Linked DNA regions of Homo sapiens: regions 1, 2, 3, 4 and 5 are each linked to region 6. The links are contacts of gene promoters, found by promoter capture Hi-C in blood cells and fetal thymus (Javierre and others, 2016). All regions are on one chromosome and are shown on one strand. The core of a region is centred on a gene start or on the middle of the fragment in contact, and the rest is flanking DNA. Distances in the headings are between cores, read along the strand shown. Region 1 overlaps TGIF1 (TGFB induced factor homeobox 1). Region 2 overlaps DLGAP1 (DLG associated protein 1). Region 3 overlaps DLGAP1 (DLG associated protein 1). Region 4 overlaps GAPLINC (gastric adenocarcinoma associated, positive CD44 regulator, long intergenic non-coding RNA). Region 5 overlaps DLGAP1 (DLG associated protein 1). Region 6 holds the start of EMILIN2 (elastin microfibril interfacer 2).

Region 1 (2,975 bases), core at 476-2,975, 610 kb before region 6:
TCTGTAGTATGTAATTTTGGTTGAAAATATGACTTGACCTTAATTGAGCCAGTTCCCCTTGACAGGAAATAAACACGGAATATTCCTCTTAAGCTAAACACCGTGTTTTTTAAAGGAATTTTTCCCACCCTTTTAATGACTCTGACTTGGTGACACATTTTTAGTTTTGGACTGCAGGGGGCAGAAGGTGCTGCAGGGTATTCCTACAAAAGGCAGAACTCTCCAAAGACAAAGTAAAGTTCTAACAAAGAGGTGGATGATCTTGCAAATTCACTTTAGCTCACAGCTTAACAAACAGCTACAAATAAACTGCACAAGAATCCTAAGTTTTAACTGCCATGTATTTGAAATTCCCCTCCCCTGATGATTTAAGTTTTTAAAAAGGTTTTTAAAAGTGCCCATTTAAAACTGAAACTACTTTCACTATTGGCAAGATGAGACTTTCAAAACCTATATTGAAATTTGGGTGAAGAACTATTAATAAAATAGCTTAAAGAAATTATAGCTGAGTTCCTGTCTCACATTGGCTTTAATAATTAAAGAAATCGAACTTTTAAAAAAAGTGTTAAGTTAATTAAATGACTAAAGCAAATTTGAATAAAGCAATTTGTTTAAACTCTCCAACGTCTGAAAAGCCAGACATTCTTCTCAAGGCTATTATCTCCTTCCTTTTTTTAATCTAGAAAAAGTGTGAAAATTTGCTCATTGAACAGTGAATTCCCAACTGTAAGTTGGTAATCACAAAGAGTTTGAAACAAAAAAAGCCCCTGAAGGCTGCCCTTTGATCTGCTTGCCTAGTTTGACAAGAAGCCTGATCTTTCAGAATAGGTTAGTGACACACAAAAGCAGGTTTCAGTTAAGCAACACCAAACTGCAGCGCGACTTTACTCTGTTCTCAGTTCATTTAAATAAATGAATGCCAGACCTCTGGAACTCTTAACAAATATTTCCAATATGTGCACAAAAGCTGAAGTAACAGGAAGTTAAGACTTCAGTGCCTTGGCTACGCCAGCTGATATTTCACTGCAGTAAAACCACGTTTGCTGCTGTCAGGACTGTTTTCATTAAAACTCTCCCTCCTAGTTGTGGCTCAGCTTGGAAAAACAAAGACTTTTTTCCTCCTTACTCATTTCCTATTGTAACAGCGCTTTTGAAAAGTTTCCCGGTTAAGACTTGTTTCCAAACGTCTTGCTTTGCTTACACTTTAAAAAATGTGGCGGTGGGGAGGGTGGGGGCAGGATCACAAGCTTCTTTCACGCTATCCACATACAAGGAAATGTTGTGGAGAAAGCCACAACATGGCCTGAGGATCCCACCGCCCTAAGCAGCGACCTTGTTCCTGCACGTTCTTTTTTTTTTTTTTTTTTTTTTGAGACAGAGTTTCGCTCTTGTCACCCAGGCTGGAGTGCAATGCCGCAACCTCGGCTCACCGCAGCCTCCGCCTCCAGGGTTCAAGCGATTCTCTTGCCTCAGCCTCCCGAATAGCTGGGATTACAGGCAAAAGCCACCACGCCCGGCTAATTTTGTGTTTTTAGGAGAGACGGGGTTTCTCCATGTTGGTCAGGCTGGTCTCGAACTCCCGACCTCAGATGATCTGCTCGCCTAGGCCTCCCAAAGTGCTGGGATTACAGGCGTGAACCACCGCGCCCAGCCCTGCACTTTCTTTTCTGAATAGCTCGGTAACATCATGAGACAGGGAGGCAGGGAGACACCGGTTGTGAAGAGACTCTAGAAATAAGATTGATGGGAAAAGTCGAGATGCACAATTAGGAAAAAGCAAATTTAACTCAACAAGTTTCCTGACCAGAAGTTCTCCTTTGAGCTGGGAGCAATGTCTCTTGCCTGTAATCCCAGAACTTTGGGAGGCCAAGGCGAGAGGATTTCTTGAGCCCAGGAGTTCGAGACCAGCCTGGGCAACATAGCCAGACCCGGTCTCCAGGAACAAAAGAAAAAAAAAATCAGTATCTCCTTGGGAGAAGCAACAGGCATTGAACACTCAAGCCACCAAATCCAAGGTATGGTTGGCTACCCCAGCCAAAGAGCAATCCCAAAGCAGGAATTCAACAGTTAAAAACTGGGAGCAAAAAGACTTAGTGGATTTTCCTTATCGATCCTTCTCATTGTTTTTAAGTCATTTTAGGAGATCTTTTGGCGTCACTCTCAGCTTTCTGGGAGGACACACTATTATCACAAACCAAGCTTACCCCGGGCTCAGGAATGGAGCTGAAAGTGCACTTGTTTTAAGAAAACTTGAAAAGATTTGCAGACTTTTATAAGACAAGACAGTAAGGAGGGCCCGACTTCCTCAGGAGTCTTTCCAGAGCCGACGGGGAAGGCTCCCCCCTCCCAGGTAGTTTTAGAGGAGGACGGCGGAGGAGCACGGGGAGAGGGAGGGGCCCAAGGAGGAAAAGCAAGTAGCTTTTGTTCTTGAGAGTTCCTCGGCCTCAAGTGAAACAGGCCGGCCCGCACACTGCACGAGTTAGCACAAGCAAAGGAACTCCAGGACCCAAGAAACTAGAAATGAGGCCGTGAATCCCACCTTCTCAGAGGCCTGCCCACCCCAGACGACTCGCCAGGGAAACCTAAAAGGGGAAAGAAACCCGGGTAACCTCGGCAGCCTCGGCTCCCCCAAAGAGCCCTGAACCAGTCGCAAAGTTTCCCCTTCAGCCCGTCACCTTTCATTGTTTCCAGGAGTCGGCGCCGAGGAGCTGGACCCTGTGCGCCCTGGGATGGGGACCGCGGAAGTTCCCACCGATGCGGCCGGCGGGGCCCAGCCTTGGTCCCCAGCTCCGGGGAGAGGGCACGCGGCTGTGGGCAGCGCGCCGGTGGAGGAGGGGGGGCGCAGGAGGACCCCAGGAGCGCAGAGGGGGTCGCCAGGGAGGACCACGGCGCTGGGGGAAGGTAGGCCAAAGTGCCGCGGGAGAGTCGGGGGGACGCCAGAAAAGCCGTGGAAAAGGAGCACTGGGGATTCCCGG
Region 2 (2,739 bases), core at 62-2,561, 780 kb before region 6:
CACACGCCACCATGCCTAGCTAATATTTTTACTATTTGTAGAGTCAAGGTCTCACTATGTTGCCCAGGCTGGTCTTGAACTCGGAGCTCAAGTGATCCTCCTGCCTCAGCTTCCCAAAGTGCAAAGATTACAGACATGAGCCACCACAACTGTCCAGAATATTTTTTAAAAGACAGAATTAAAAATACATATAACCCAGTAGAAGTCAGGAGTTAAAGTGTTTTAAGTACCTTGTATTTTCTAAGAAAAGGTTAAGGGTATTAAGTCTAGATATTAGTAAGTTAAATATGTGGATTAGAATTTCTAGACTAACTCCTAAAGTCATATAAAAAGAGTCAGCCAGGCACGGTGGCTCACACCTGTAATGCCAGCACTTTGGAAGGCCAAGGTGGGCAGATCACCTGAGGTCAGGAGTTCAAGGCTAGCCTGACCAACATGGTGAAACCCCATCTCTACTTAAAAAAAAAAAAAAATTAACTGGGCGTGCTGGCACATGCCTGTAGTCCCAGCTACTTGGGAGGCTGAGACAGGAGAATTGCTTGAACCCAGCAGGCAGAGGATGCAATGAGCCGAAATTGCACCACTGCACCCCAGCCTGGGCGACAGAAGGAGACTCAGTCTCATAAAAAAAATAAAAATAAAAAATAAATAAAAAGATTCAAAACTGCAAATTAGAAAGGTGTCAATTCACTTAAAACTGATCTATAAATTTAATGCAATATCAACCAAAAACCTGAATTTTGTTGTTGTTGTTGTGTTTTAGTTTTTGCAAAGTGCCACATACAGCCAAGATACTCTTGAAAAGCAGCAAAATTAGAGGATTTGCCCTATTGAGCATCAAGATTCATAATTAGCCTATAGTAATAAGACATGGTGTTAGCACAAGGACAGGGCAGTAGCCCAACAGAACAGACTACAGATTACAGAAATAGTCCCGTGCTCATATGGAAGCTTGAGAGGCATCTTTGCAATTCAGTGGGGAAGGGACAATATTCAGTAGATGGTGCTGTCACTGAGGAGTATTTATTTGGAAAAAAAATAAAATAAAATTGGACTATACCTTTGTATTAGCCAGGGTTCTTCAGAGACACAGAGACAACAGGAGAGAGAGAAAGACAAAGATTTATTATAGGGAATTGGGGCACACAGTTATAGAGGCCGAGAATTCCCAAGATCTCGAGTCATCAAGCTGAGGACCCAGGAGACCTGATGTGTACTTCCAGCTTGAATCCAGGAGCCTGAGAACCAGGAGAGCTGATGGATAGTTTCAGTCTGAGGACCTGCAGGCTCACAACCCAAGGAGGACCAATGTTTCAGGCCAAGTCTGAAGGCTGGAAAAAACCGATGCCCCAACTTAACCAGTCGGACAGGAGAAATTCTCTCATATTCAGTCTTTTTATTCTATTCCGGTCTTCAATTGATTGAATGAGGCCCAACCACACTGGGGAGAGCAATCTGCTGTACTCAGTCTACTGATTCCAATGTAATACTCTCACTTGGAAGCACCATCACAGACACACACAGAATAATATTTGGCCAAATGTCTGGGTACCACATGGCCCAGTCAAGTTGACACATAAAATTAACCATTACAACTTTATACTCCAGCCCTCCTAAGCAATTCTAGTTGAATTTAAGACCTAAATGTGAAAGGCCAAACAATAAAGCTTCCCAAAATGATATGGGGGTAGGGGAAGTTTCTGAAATAAAATATGAAGAGCATGAAAATTTTTAAAAAGATTGCTACATTTGCCTATTGTGTTCAAACTTTGCCCTTCACAAGAAAGGGACATCGAAATATCAAAACCTGCAAAAAGTGCTCATCTCATTAGGAATCCAAAATAAGTAAATTAAATCCACAGTGAGATACCAATACACACCTACCAGGTTAGCAAAAAATTATTTCATTATTTTTTATTTATTTTTATTTATTTATTTATTTATTTTTTGAGACAGAGTCTCACTCTGTTGCCCAGGCTGGAGTGCGGTGGCGCGATCTCGGCTCACTGCAAGCTCCGCCTCCCGGGTTCACGCCATTCTCCTGCCTCAGCCTCCCGAGTAGCTGGGACTACAGGCGCCCACCAACACGCCCGGCTAATTTTTTTGTATTTTTAGTAGAGACAGGGTTTCAGCGTGTTAGCCAGGATGGTCTCGATCTCCTGACCTCGTGATCCGCCCGCCTCAGCCTCCCAAAGTGCTGGGATTACAGGGTTGAGCCACCGCGCCCAGCCTATTTTTTATTTTTATTTATTTGTTTGTAGACAGAGCCTCACTTTGTCACTCAAGCTGGAGTGCAGTGCCACAATCATGGCTCATTGCAGCCTCAACCTCCCAGGTTCAAGTGATCCTCCCACCTCAGCTATTTATTTTTTTAGAGATGGCGTCTTGCTGTGTTACCCAGGCTAGTCTCAAACTCCTGTCTTGGCCTCCCAAAGTGCTGGGATTGTAGGTGTGAGCCACTGTGCCTGGCCACAAAAAATTATAAAGTGTAACAATATCAAATGTTGGCAAAGATATGCAGCAGCAATAGGAATTCTCATGCACTGTTATGGGAGTGTATGTTGGGACAATATCCACATTTTTAAAAATATTATTTGACATTATGAAGAAACTCATAGCAAACAACCCGAACATTTTCTAGAAAAGTCTTTTACTTGTGTGCCAAATACAGGACAGGAATATTCATGGTGGCATTGTTCAAATACCAAAAAAACCCTAAATATCCATCTATAGTAAAAT
Region 3 (2,830 bases), core at 30-2,529, 760 kb before region 6:
CACATAATCTAGGAAGGAAAGAAAAAAGAAGAGCACCTAATTCCTATATGTCACAGGGTAAGTGGAACACTCTATCCCCTTTCCCTACATTCACCTCTTCGCTCACCGCATCACACTATGAGATAGGTGCTGTTATCCTAACTCAACAGATGAGGAAACTCAGGAAAAGATGATTTAATAGTGTAAAGTTAAGTAGCTTGTAACTGGCAGGTCAGGATTTGCACCAGGCAGACACAGCCTTTTCTAGCGTGTGGAAGAAATATCTATTCCACACCCATCGCTAGGTTCATGGCTAAGACTCCTATCACAGAAGACAGATTAGTAACAGAAAAATAAGCAAATTTATTTAACATAAGTTTCACATGATACAGCAGCCTTCCAAAGGAAGACTCAGGCCCGGGTGAGGTGGATCACACCTCAAATCCCAGTACTTTGGGAGGCCAAGGTGGGAGGATCACTTGAGCCCAGGAATTTGAGACTAGCCTGGGCAACATAGTGAGACCATATCTCTACAAAAAAATGTTTAAAAATTGGCTGGTTGTGGTGGTGCACACCTGCAGTCCCAGCTACTTGGGAGGCTGAGGACACTGCAAGGGAGAGTATTACAGATCAGGCTGGGTGCAGCAGCTCACGCCTGTAATCCCAGCACTTTGGGAGGCCGAGGCTCACTTGAGTTCAGGAGTTTGAGACCAACATGGCCAACATGGTGAAACCCTGTCTCTACTAAAAGTATAAAAATTAGCCAGGCGTGGTGGCACATGCCTGTAATCCCAGCTACTTGGGAGGCTGAGGCAGGAGGATCATTGAACCTGGGAGGTGGAGGTTGCAGTGAGCTGAGATCGTGCACTACACTCCAGCCTGGGTGACAGAGCAAGACTCTGTCTCAAAAAAATGAAAAGTTTCAGACTTTGGAGTATTTCAGATTTCAACTAGAATAAATTTATTATCTAACGGTAACAAACAACTGGGGGACAGTAGGGCAAGAGCTGTCTGTTCCTTCTTCGCCTCTGGGTATAGAGCGAGACCTCTCTGGAATGAGCATCTTATGACCTACTTTCAGACAAAGATAGGTCAGAGCATTCCCTCGTGGCCAGCTCTCACAGTGAGTGACCTTCTTGCTCCTTCAGTTTTCTCAATTGCCAAGTCACCATATTTTAGGGCATTATGTTCTGAGCCCCAACACATAGACAGCATCTACAAAGTCACTGCATAAGTGCCAAGCCAATCAAATCAATAAGCAAACAAATACAACTTAAAAAATAAAATCAAAGTGACTAAGATGGCAAAATAATTTATTTTCTCAAACAATACCAGGTCCAAGGGTAAGGCAATGAATTTACCAAAACCAGCAAGTTCATTACAGCTGGCCTTTCTTCCACCCGTCATCCCCAGTGTGAGCTCATCTTTTTTTTTTTTTGAGATGGAGTTTCACTCTCATTGGCCCAGACGGGAGTGCAGTGGCGCCCTCTCCGCTCACTGTAACCTCCACCTCTCGGATTCAGGCAATTCTCCTGCCTCAGCCTCCCCAGTAGCTAGAATTACAGGCATGCGCCACCACACCCGGCTAATTTTGTATTTTTAGTAGAGACAGGGCTTCTCCATGTTGGTCAGGCTGGTCTTGAACTCCCGACTTCACATGATCTGCCCGCATCCTCCCAAAATGCTGGGATTACAGGCCACCACGCCCAGCTGAGCTGGTCTTCTTAGGCCAGTACTTTCTGTGGTCCCCCGATGGCAGCCACAGTTCCAGCATCCCTTGCAGATGACAAAGTCCAGAGGAAGAAAAAGGATGTCCCTGACTTGGGTGGCTTTAAATAGTGAGGTAAACTTTCCCAGAACATTCCCATCCAACCTCCCTTCTCATCTCTTTGTCTGGTAGTCTGGTGAAGATTCAGCCTCCACGTGTAGGGAGGGGCTTAGCCACCCCTAAAACTCACAGCTGTGTGGAAAAGATCAACAGTACTGGGGTCTCATTAGCAAGCAGGATAGAGAGAATGGTTATGAGGAGGCAAACAACCATGTTTGCCACTGGCGTAAAGGCATGCAAAAGGATGGTATGTTCTGGAAATGATAAGCAGCCAGATAAGAAATTGTCAGGAGAAGGTAATAAAATATGCTGCAGCCCAGTTGTAAAGGAGTTACCGGCCAATATTTGGCTGCCTTGTATGGGTCCATGTTCCTTAAGTTTTCAAAGACAGTGAGATATCAAATAATGTTAGATTTTTAGTATTCCTTTTTTATGTGGTAATCATATAAAATTTCCTTCAAAAAACAAATGCTCAAGGCCGGGTGCAGTGGCTTATGCCTGTAATCCCAGTATTTTGGGAGGCTGAGGAGGGTGGATCGCTTGAGCCCAGGAGCTCAAGACCAGCCTGGGCAACAAAACAAAACCCCATTTCTACAAAAAATATAAAATATTATCTGGGTGTGGTGGCACCGGCCTGTAGTCCAGCTACTCTGGAGGCTGAGGCGGGAAAATCACCTTGTTGCAGTGAGCCTGGGTAACAGAACAAGATCCTGTCTCAAAGGAATTAAAAGAAAAATAAAAAAGGTTCAAAACAAAAATTACACGGCAACATACATGGTAATACAAAAATTCCATAATCTAGGCCAGGCGCGATGGCTCATGCCTCTAATCCCAGCACTCTGGGAGGCCGAGGCAGGTGGATCAATCACCTGAAGTCAGGAGTTCGAGACCAGCCTGGCCAGCTTGGCGAAACCCCTTCTCTACTAAAATTAGCCAGGTGTGGTGGCAGGTGCCTGTAATCCCAGCTACTGGGGAGGCTGAGGCAGGAGAATTGCTTGAACCCGGGAGGTGGAGGTTGCAATG
Region 4 (2,836 bases), core at 280-2,779, 620 kb before region 6:
CAGAGCTGGGGATCTTGGGTCTATTTCAAAGGCTTCGGAGTCCTCTACTCATACCTGCCCGCTTCACTGCACACCTGGTCCCTCTCCACGTTTGCCTAAGGCAGTCCTGAACTCAAAGTATTCTGCCTTGCATAGCTGCAGCTCTCTCTCAAATAAGACTTACCCTATGTGCTTAATTTTTATTTTTTTATTTTTATTTTTTGAGACAGAATCTTGCTCTGTTGCCTAGGCTGGAATGCAGTGGCACAATCTCAGCTCATTGCAACCTCCGCCTCCCGGGTTCAAGCGATTATCCTGCCTCAGCCTCCCAAGTAGCTGGGATTACAGGCACGCATCACGACATACAGCTAATTTTTGTATTTTTAGTAGAGACGGGCTTTCACCATGTTGGTCAGGCTGGTCTCGAACTCCTGGCCTCAAGTGATCTGCCCACCTCTGCTTCCCAAAGTGCTGGGATTACAGATGTGAGCCACTGTGCCTGGCCAAATGTGCTTAATATTAAAGCCAACACTTGCCCAGCTGCTCTGAAAGGACAGCTCAGTTTTAAAAGCACTATGTCCTGACTGCACGTTACACATTTTTATTCCTTGAAGTAACAAGGCTCTTTTCTCTCAGTTTCCAAATGCTCCTTGACTTCTCAACTAAGTGTACATTGATACAATCACAGTCATTTTCCTAATCAATGCCAGGTTTTCCATCCTTGGAGGTCCTTGAGGCTCCCTGAGGTCTTCTCACCTTCTTCTTCCGATGAAGAACATCACCCTTGGTCTTAGCAGGGCTGGCCTGGCTCCACCCACCAGGCCATGATGCCCCCTCTCTTCCTGCCTCTGTCTCCTCCACCCCTTTCTGTTCACCCTCCCTCTTCTGCCCTGTACCACCCTGGTGTTCTGCTCTCCACCATCTGCCCTGGCATCAGGGGATGCTTCCTCTTCACATCAATTCCTATTACTTCGACTAAAACAAACCCTTAGACCAGACTGTTATTTTCTTTTTCTTTTTTTGGGATGGAGTCTCACTCTGTCTCCCAGGCTGGAGTGCAGTGGTGCGATCTCAGCTTACTGTAACCTCTACCTCCCAGGTTCAAGCGATTCTTCTGCCTCGGCCTCCCGAATAGCTGGTATTACAAGCATAGGCCACCAGGCATAGGCCACCATGCTTGGCTAATTTTTGTATGTTTAGTAGAGATGGGGTTTCATCATGTTGGCAAGGCTGGTCTCAAACTCCTAGCATCAAGTGATCCATCGGTCTTGGCCTCCCAAAGTACTGGGATTGCAGGCATGAGCCAAGCCACCGTGCCTGGCTGACTGTCCTTTTCTCTGGACAGAAATGTCATCCCGAAAGTTTCAAATCACCCTATTGATGGTTTTGCCCAAAGAAACCAATCATTTCATCATTCTGAGATGCCCTCTACTGAACTTTTTATTTGCATTTTCTTCTATGGCAAACCTTTCACCTAGGCTTAGGATGAGAGGTATCTTATGGAACTTTCACTGATTTCAAATAGCCTACACTGTTACTAGATCTATATGTATTATTTATGTCCTTAGAAAGTTAGAGATTTCAGAGGCTAAAGATATCATCTAATCCAACTCTATGCTTTACTGACAAGAAAACTAGCTCAAAGAAGTTAGTTTACTCCTAGCCACCCAGCTAGTATTATGCTGGCCTAGTGTCATAGTTAGGTCTTCTGGAGCTAAGCTCAGTTCTCTTCCTTCTGTATCGGGGGCAGCTTGGGTTACTGCATATCGAAATCACAAAAAGCAGATTGAGGCTTCTTCAGAGTGTTCTACTTACGTGAGCCCAGAGGGAGAAGGAGAAAGCAAATTGGAGGCTCTGAGTGGTTAGCCCTTTAGTAATAAAGAACCGGTGTTGGGCCAGGTGCGGTGGCTCACGCCTGTAATCCCAGCACTTTGGGAGGCCGAGGCGGGTGGATCACAAGGTCAGGAGTTTGAGACCAGCCTGGCCAACATGGTGAAACCCCGTCTCTACTAAAGATACAAAACATTAGCTGGGCGTGGTGGCACACGCCTGTAATCCCAGCTACTCGGGAGGCTGAGGCAGGAGAATCACTTGAACCCAGGAGGTGGAGGTTGCAGTGAGCCGAGATTGCGCCATTGCACTCCAGCCTGGGTGACAGGGAGAGACTCGGTCTCAAAAAAAAAAAAAAAAAAAAAAGACCTGGTGTTGTTTTCTGCATTATAGGAATGATGCCAGTGGTAAAAAAAAAAATCACGCAGCTTGGTTTCAGGGATGATGATGACCTCATCAGCACTACAACAGCCACCACTATCTCCAGCCTACAGCCCCCGCCTGAAGCCCTCACACTACTTCCTTGTATAACATCATAGGAGAGAAGTAAAGACAGCATTAAGGATCGGGGGAAGGGAACTTTACTGCTGCTGTTGTAAGAAACTGGAGAAAGGCAGACGAGAGGTGTGGGAAATAGGCGAGGCCAGGACCCAGCAGGACCACCTCAGAGGCGGACTTGGGGACAGTCACCTCCCAGGCGGCAAGTGGAAACCGGAGTCAGAACCTGAGCCAGGTAGATTTGCTCATCTAAGATCCAACAATAACATGGATTTGTAGGTCAATCAGCTTTGCTCTAAAACTCTAAAGAGGTTCTACATTGTTACCTCATTTAATCCTCAACAACCTTGAAATTTAGGTATCTGTTTTTTTATATAACGAGAGATGAAGAAGCCCAGATTTAGAGATGCCAAATGACTTGAGCAGCTACAGAAGTTCAATTCTCTTTCCCCTGTTTCCTTAGTGTTTTTTTTTTGAGACAAAGTCTCACTGTTGTGCAGGCTGGAGTGCCATGGCACAAATTCAGCTC
Region 5 (2,700 bases), core at 171-2,670, 900 kb before region 6:
GTAGCCAGGCATTGGATAAATGGTAACAAATGTCAGGTATTATTATAAAGTAGAAATAACTCAAGAGGCAACTACAAAAGTAAACAACTTTAATGAAAGTTACATTTCTATACGGATTATAAAGCCATTATAGGTAAGGTTACTGAAAAGAAAGGCTTCGTTTTACCAAAGCAGATTGACTACTAAAATGCCCTGTGTTTGATTCCCTGAAACTAGTTCAACAGAGAACTGTCACCTACTAAGTACCATTGTCCACACCAAAGCCCAAGGGATCAAAGCCTCTCAGTTTAAGCCATTAATGTTTATGAGTATGATTTGATAAAAGTGTCATGACCAAGGCCAAATACGTTCATTTTTGAAATACAATGAAGTTAGATTAACCTCCTGAGGCCATAAAATGTTTCCTCTGGGTCCCATGGAAGAGCCTTACATTCCAATACTTTTGTAAGTCAGAGAGAAGACAACGTGAAAATGAACAAAACTTAGGGTGCAGATGGCTCCATAAGATGGTCCATCACCTCCAAAGATTCTCCCATTAGACTCCATAACCTGGAAGCATTTCCTTCTTTGGGGGAAAAAGCATCCCAGCCATCTGAAGTTATTTCCAGTAATATGTTGCAAAGTTAGTCATTTTGTCTTTTGAGACACTGGTTTAAAACTTTGTGGTCTGATGATTACTGTACACGCTCTTCTTCGCAATGGCAGCCTTCCGGATACAAAGGGTCAAGCTTGTTTGTGTGGTTGGCTCACTGTCACCTAAGAACTTCCCATTATTGGTTGTACTTTAAAGTCATGATAATGAATGGGACCTCCCAGCCCAAAAAATCAAAATCTCCCTTTAGTTCTGATAAGCTAGGAAAAGTTAACTTAGCATAAGTAATTTAGGGAGAAGGATGGAAAAAGAAGAGTGCCATTTCGTTAGACCAACATTGGAAATAATTAACGTAACATGAGAGAGTTAATGTTTCTGAATATGCACACTGTCTTTCTTCTGAGCAGATCAACTTTCTTTTGAGGTAAAGACAAAGTCATCGATGCACTATTTTGGTGTTTATTTAATGAGCGTTTCTGCATCCGGAGCACATGGGCATATAGTAACCTTTATATTGATAGCGGAGGGCTCTGTTCTATAAGTGGGCAAGATAAAACAGTTCATTTCCTTATATTTTGTGTGTTATTAATGTATGCATTGTTTTATCAGGAATGACTCACCAGAGAAGAACTATTCAATTCCTTCTGAATGATGTTTCACTTTGAAATTTGGGAATTGTGCCTTATTTCATAACGAGTGGCCAGAGTGAATGATTGTTGCAATGATGCCTCATTTCCCCATTCAGCCAGCAGACGCTCATTTTTCAAAACGCCGGACTTTCACTTCTTCTTTGAATATACACCATTTATGAAACAGCCACTCCCGTCACTGCCCTGATAACATTTGGAATGGCATCATCATTTATGTTGGCAATATCATTGCTCTGGGTCAGGTTGCAAAATAGTCAAAGAAACACATTTGTCATCTAATGCGCAAGTTCTAAAGAGAAGTGAACTTTAGGTTATAAATGCTTCCAGCTACGATTCTCTTTTTCTAAAAAAGATCTTAAAAGGAAAACGAATTTTTCAGTTTGTTTGTTGGTTGAAATTTTTGGCATTGGTATTATAAAGCGATGCAGCTGGAATCACCATAATAGCACGTAACACATGGAAAATATTACCTTGACCTGGCAAACTATTTTCATGTTTGACCACTACTTGAAGGATCCATAGGGCACATTTCTAGAACAATTTTTTTCTTTTACTTTTTTATATTAAAAAATACAGACAGGGCCTCACTATGTAGCCCAGGCTGGTCTGGGCTCAAGAGTTCCTTCCACGTAGACCTCCCAAAGTGCTAGGATTACAGGTGTGAGCCACACTGCACCCAGCCTAGTTTATCTTTTGTAACAGTAAAATGCAATAAGAGATTTACTTTCGATGTTATATTCTAGATCTGTCTTAATTTGGTTTCTCCCTCAGTGCAGCTGCAAAAAGTGGTTGCTTATCACATTCTCAGGGTTTAGTATTATTAAGAATAGTTTTTGGCTGTTATATATTAAGTAATTCCATACAAGCTTTAAGAATAGATGCAATCGTACACAATGCTACTAAGAGGACACTTAGAATATAGGGAATATCTTTACAATTTGAGGACATCAAGATGGATGTACATGAATGTAATGTGTAAATGTATGTTTTTTAAAATCCACATTTCTCTAATTACTAGTGAGATCGAGCATTTTGTCATATGCTTGGTGATATATAAAGTTACTTTCCTGTGAATTTATATATTTATTTTCTTATGATTCCCTCTTTATAGGCTTTGACCATTTTTTATTGTGTTGGTTTCATTATTTTTATTCATAATTTAAATATTATGCATGTGAACCCTTTTTGCTGCTTAGTGTTGCAAATATGTTCTTATACACAATGACTATTTTTCTTAACATTGTTGACAGGATCTTTGGCTGAACAAAAGTTTTAAATTTTCATGTACTTCCATTCATTAACCTTTCTCTTTATGGCATCTAAGTTTACCACGATGCTTCTAAAGTCTTTCTCTACCATATTCCTTTGCATTTCTTTAGGCCTTCTTTATTGCCTTCCATAAGGCTTTATAGGTTTTTTTATTCATAAAACATTGATAAATTTCTCTTTAAATTGTTT
Region 6 (2,700 bases), core at 109-2,608:
CTACTTAGCCAAACCTCTCAGCGAATCCTATACGGAATAGTCTTTAGCAGTATACATTTTGGAATCTTCTGTGTGCCCCAGAACACACAATATGGATCCAATTAGATTCAGCTGCCTTATGTTACAAACAAACATTGAAAGGGAGAAAACAGAAGTGGGAGTGGGAGCTTTGTTCATCCTCTCCTACGCCCCCGCGACCCCACACTCCCGAGGCGCGCGCATCCTCCCCACTCACTCGGGCAGCACCCACTCCCTAAATAGCCCAGCGTGGCCGGTGCCCCGCGAGCGCTCGGAGCGCTTTTCCGCTGCGGGCTTTTCACCGGATCTGGAAGGGATTTACCGGAGGGACTGGAGCCCAGCGCAGCAACCCCACCCCACCCCCACCGCCCCGGCCCGGGCGCGCCCCGCCCGCTCCCCGGCTCCAGGACTTACACCAGCGCCGACGGACAGGGCATCTGGTTCCAGGCACAGTTGTACTGAGCCTGAATAAAACTCTCACTTCCCTCCAGCACGGAGCAGCTCACATTCTTGTTCACGATGTAGGCGCACCAGTTCCTGGGGTGCAGGAGAGAGAGGGAGAGGGGCACGGGGTAAACCCGGAGAACAATGAGGCCAGGGGAGAGGGGACTGCGGCACCAGACCGAGCGAGGGTCGGGGGGGCCCGTCGCCCTCTGCGGAGGCGGGAGCTTCACCGAGCAGACGCCGGAGGGTGCCCGGGTGCGCCTCTGGAGAGCGCGCGCCTGGACCCGACCAAGACGGGAAAGAAAAGCACCCATGGTCCCAGGGGCTCATGGAATTCCTGGGAGTCGTTTTCGGATCGCCCGGGTCTGCGGGACGCTCTCTGCGCCCACGCCCCCGGAGTCAGCTCTGCCTGAGGCGCCGGCTGCGGAGCGCGCGGTCCCCCGCAGAGGGAGCCGCCCGGGGAAGTCCAAGGGAGGCCCCCGGCTGCCGCTCGTCGTCTTTGGCAGGGCAGCTCTGGGGCTCAACTGGGGGCCGGGGAGGGGTAGGCGGTTTGGGGCCAGCCAAGGGGCGCGCACTTACTTGTTCCTGGCGCTGGGCCGCGCGGGATACCCGGGCTGCGGGCCGGCGTGGCACAGCCCCGCGCCAACCAGGGCCAGCAGCGCCAGCGCCCAGCGCCAGGGCACGCGGGGCCAGGGCCGTCTGGGCTGCCACATCCCGCGCGCAGCGGGCGCGCCCCGCCTGCCCGGGTCCGGAGCGCGGCGGATCGGGGCACCGGCCACAAGGCTGCCGGCGGCCAGGGCGCCGCCCGCGAAGGCAAGAGGCTCGGGCGCTTCGCGGCGCTCCAACCAGTGCTCCGCGGCCGCCCCCTCCGGCTTCTCGTTCCTACTTCTCCTTCTGCAGCCCCGTGCGCCCTGCGCTTCTCCCCGGTCCCTCAATGACGCACAGGTCCCCCCGGGTGCCGCCCTCTTTATTTCACTTCCCTCTCCGAAACGTGACTCTCCCCCCACCAAGTCTCCCCGTCTCCAGTCCCTTCGCTTCTCGGCAGGGGGCTCGGGGTGGAGGGGCGAAAGGGTTTGGGATAAGGGTCTACGTTACAGCATTTCCAATGACTCATTCCTTTGGTCTCTTCCCAGATGCCGAGCGACTCCGCCTCCCACCTTCCGACAGGCTCGCTCCCGGCCCCCCGGGACGCGGCCGCCGTCGGCGAGTCTGGCCGTCCTCGCGTCGTGCCTGGGTGCCAGCCTCCCGGGGCGAATGAGGGACATGTTTATCAGTCCCGCGGGGAGAGGAGTGGGGGCTCGACTCGAATTTCCTCCTCGGGCAAGACAGGGCCGTTCCCCCACCAGCTCCATGGACCTAGAGAGTCCAGGAGGAAACGAACGCTGGTTCTTTCTTTGCCCAACTCTGCCTTAGGCACCATCTGACAGTTTCCGAGGCCACGCGGGGGGCGGCAGGACAGGACAAGCCACAGCCCCGCCAATTCCCAGAGGCTGCTGCAGCTCAGCGTCCGGCTCTATCACTTACTGCAATTCTCCTCCAATTCTTGAAAGGTGATCTCACAGCCTCTGCTTCTGAGGTCCCACTGTGAACTTTCTTTTTCTATTGAAACTAAGGCATTTACTCACGTTTGCTTCTTAACAGTTCAGGCACTGCTAGACATCCGTCTTAAACTTTCTTGTATGTTTTCTGCCTGTTGTTGAGTTACACTAATCTCTACCGATGTCTTTTTGGGATGAAGTACCAGAATGTTAAGTAAAATCACCACCCAAGTGTTGTATTCTAAGGGGTGTTGGAGAGAGCTGTGTGTTTGAGATGACCTGCTGCATCTAATCAATGTACAGGGTCGTGAGTGGCGTGGTTACCAGACTCCACAGATAAAACTGTGGCCTCTGTGAGCTAACCAGACGCTGTTGGCCATGACTCGTTAAGTGAATAAAGCTTTGCTATGGGCCAGGCGGGGTGGCTCACGCCTGTAATCCCAGCACTTTGGGAGGTCGAGGCGGGTGGATCACCTGACGTCGGGAGTTCAAGACCAGCCTGACCAACATGGAGAAACCCCGTCTCTACTAAAAGTACAAAAAAAAAAAAAAAATTTGCCGGGCACGGTGGCACATGCCTGTAATCCCAGCTACTTGGGAGGCTGAGGCAGGAGAATCGCTTGAACCAGAGAGATGGAGGTTGCAGTGAGCCGGGATCTCACCACTGCACTCCAGCCTGGGCAAAAAGAGTGAAAATCTG

The links. The method cuts DNA at HindIII sites, captures the fragments that hold promoters and counts their contacts. A CHiCAGO score of 5 or more calls a contact.
Region 1: a contact is called between a fragment that was not itself captured here and the fragment with the promoter of EMILIN2 in region 6, in 3 of 17 cell types (M0 macrophages, M1 macrophages and monocytes). The highest score is 6.2, in M0 macrophages.
Region 2: a contact is called between a fragment that was not itself captured here and the fragment with the promoter of EMILIN2 in region 6, in 2 of 17 cell types (M0 macrophages and M2 macrophages). The highest score is 6.6, in M0 macrophages.
Region 3: a contact is called between a fragment that was not itself captured here and the fragment with the promoter of EMILIN2 in region 6, in 1 of 17 cell types (M0 macrophages). The highest score is 5.5, in M0 macrophages.
Region 4: a contact is called between a fragment that was not itself captured here and the fragment with the promoter of EMILIN2 in region 6, in 1 of 17 cell types (M0 macrophages). The highest score is 5.4, in M0 macrophages.
Region 5: a contact is called between a fragment that was not itself captured here and the fragment with the promoter of EMILIN2 in region 6, in 4 of 17 cell types (monocytes, M2 macrophages, M0 macrophages and 1 more). The highest score is 7.6, in monocytes.

The regions. Positions count from the first base shown.
Region 1 is chr18:3,452,083-3,455,057 of GRCh38, reverse strand. All of the region lies in intron 1 of TGIF1 (TGFB induced factor homeobox 1), which reads right to left. Among named protein-coding and RNA genes, the nearest start is that of TGIF1, 3.4 kb to the right of the region's middle. RefSeq lists enhancers at 1,706-2,325, 2,326-2,947, 2,948-2,975. The HindIII fragment of the contact is 952 bases long and covers 1,250-2,201 here.
Region 2 is chr18:3,628,882-3,631,620 of GRCh38, reverse strand. All of the region lies in intron 7 of DLGAP1 (DLG associated protein 1), which reads left to right. Among named protein-coding and RNA genes, the nearest start is that of DLGAP1-AS6, 23 kb to the left of the region's middle. The HindIII fragment of the contact is 716 bases long and covers 954-1,669 here.
Region 3 is chr18:3,606,911-3,609,740 of GRCh38, reverse strand. All of the region lies in intron 7 of DLGAP1 (DLG associated protein 1), which reads left to right. It overlaps DLGAP1-AS2 (DLGAP1 antisense RNA 2), which reads right to left. Exons shown (of 3, transcript NR_119377.1): 3 at 1-8. Among named protein-coding and RNA genes, the nearest start is that of DLGAP1-AS2, 4.6 kb to the right of the region's middle. The HindIII fragment of the contact is 5,854 bases long and covers 1-2,830 here.
Region 4 is chr18:3,468,551-3,471,386 of GRCh38, reverse strand. All of the region lies in intron 2 of GAPLINC (gastric adenocarcinoma associated, positive CD44 regulator, long intergenic non-coding RNA), which reads right to left. The region is part of intron 2 of LOC105371965 (a long non-coding RNA gene); the gene reads left to right. Among named protein-coding and RNA genes, the nearest start is that of GAPLINC, 3.7 kb to the right of the region's middle. RefSeq lists an enhancer at 1,459-2,249. The HindIII fragment of the contact is 7,022 bases long and covers 1-2,836 here.
Region 5 is chr18:3,746,298-3,748,997 of GRCh38, reverse strand. The region is part of intron 5 of DLGAP1 (DLG associated protein 1); the gene reads left to right. Among named protein-coding and RNA genes, the nearest start is that of DLGAP1-AS6, 95 kb to the right of the region's middle. The HindIII fragment of the contact is 1,380 bases long and covers 731-2,110 here.
Region 6 is chr18:2,845,664-2,848,363 of GRCh38, reverse strand. It overlaps EMILIN2 (elastin microfibril interfacer 2), which reads right to left and starts at 1,358. Exons shown (of 8, transcript NM_032048.3): 1 at 1,042-1,358; 2 at 433-555. The coding sequence starts at 1,175. RefSeq lists silencers at 381-470, 1,091-1,140. The HindIII fragment of the contact is 11,570 bases long and covers 1-2,402 here.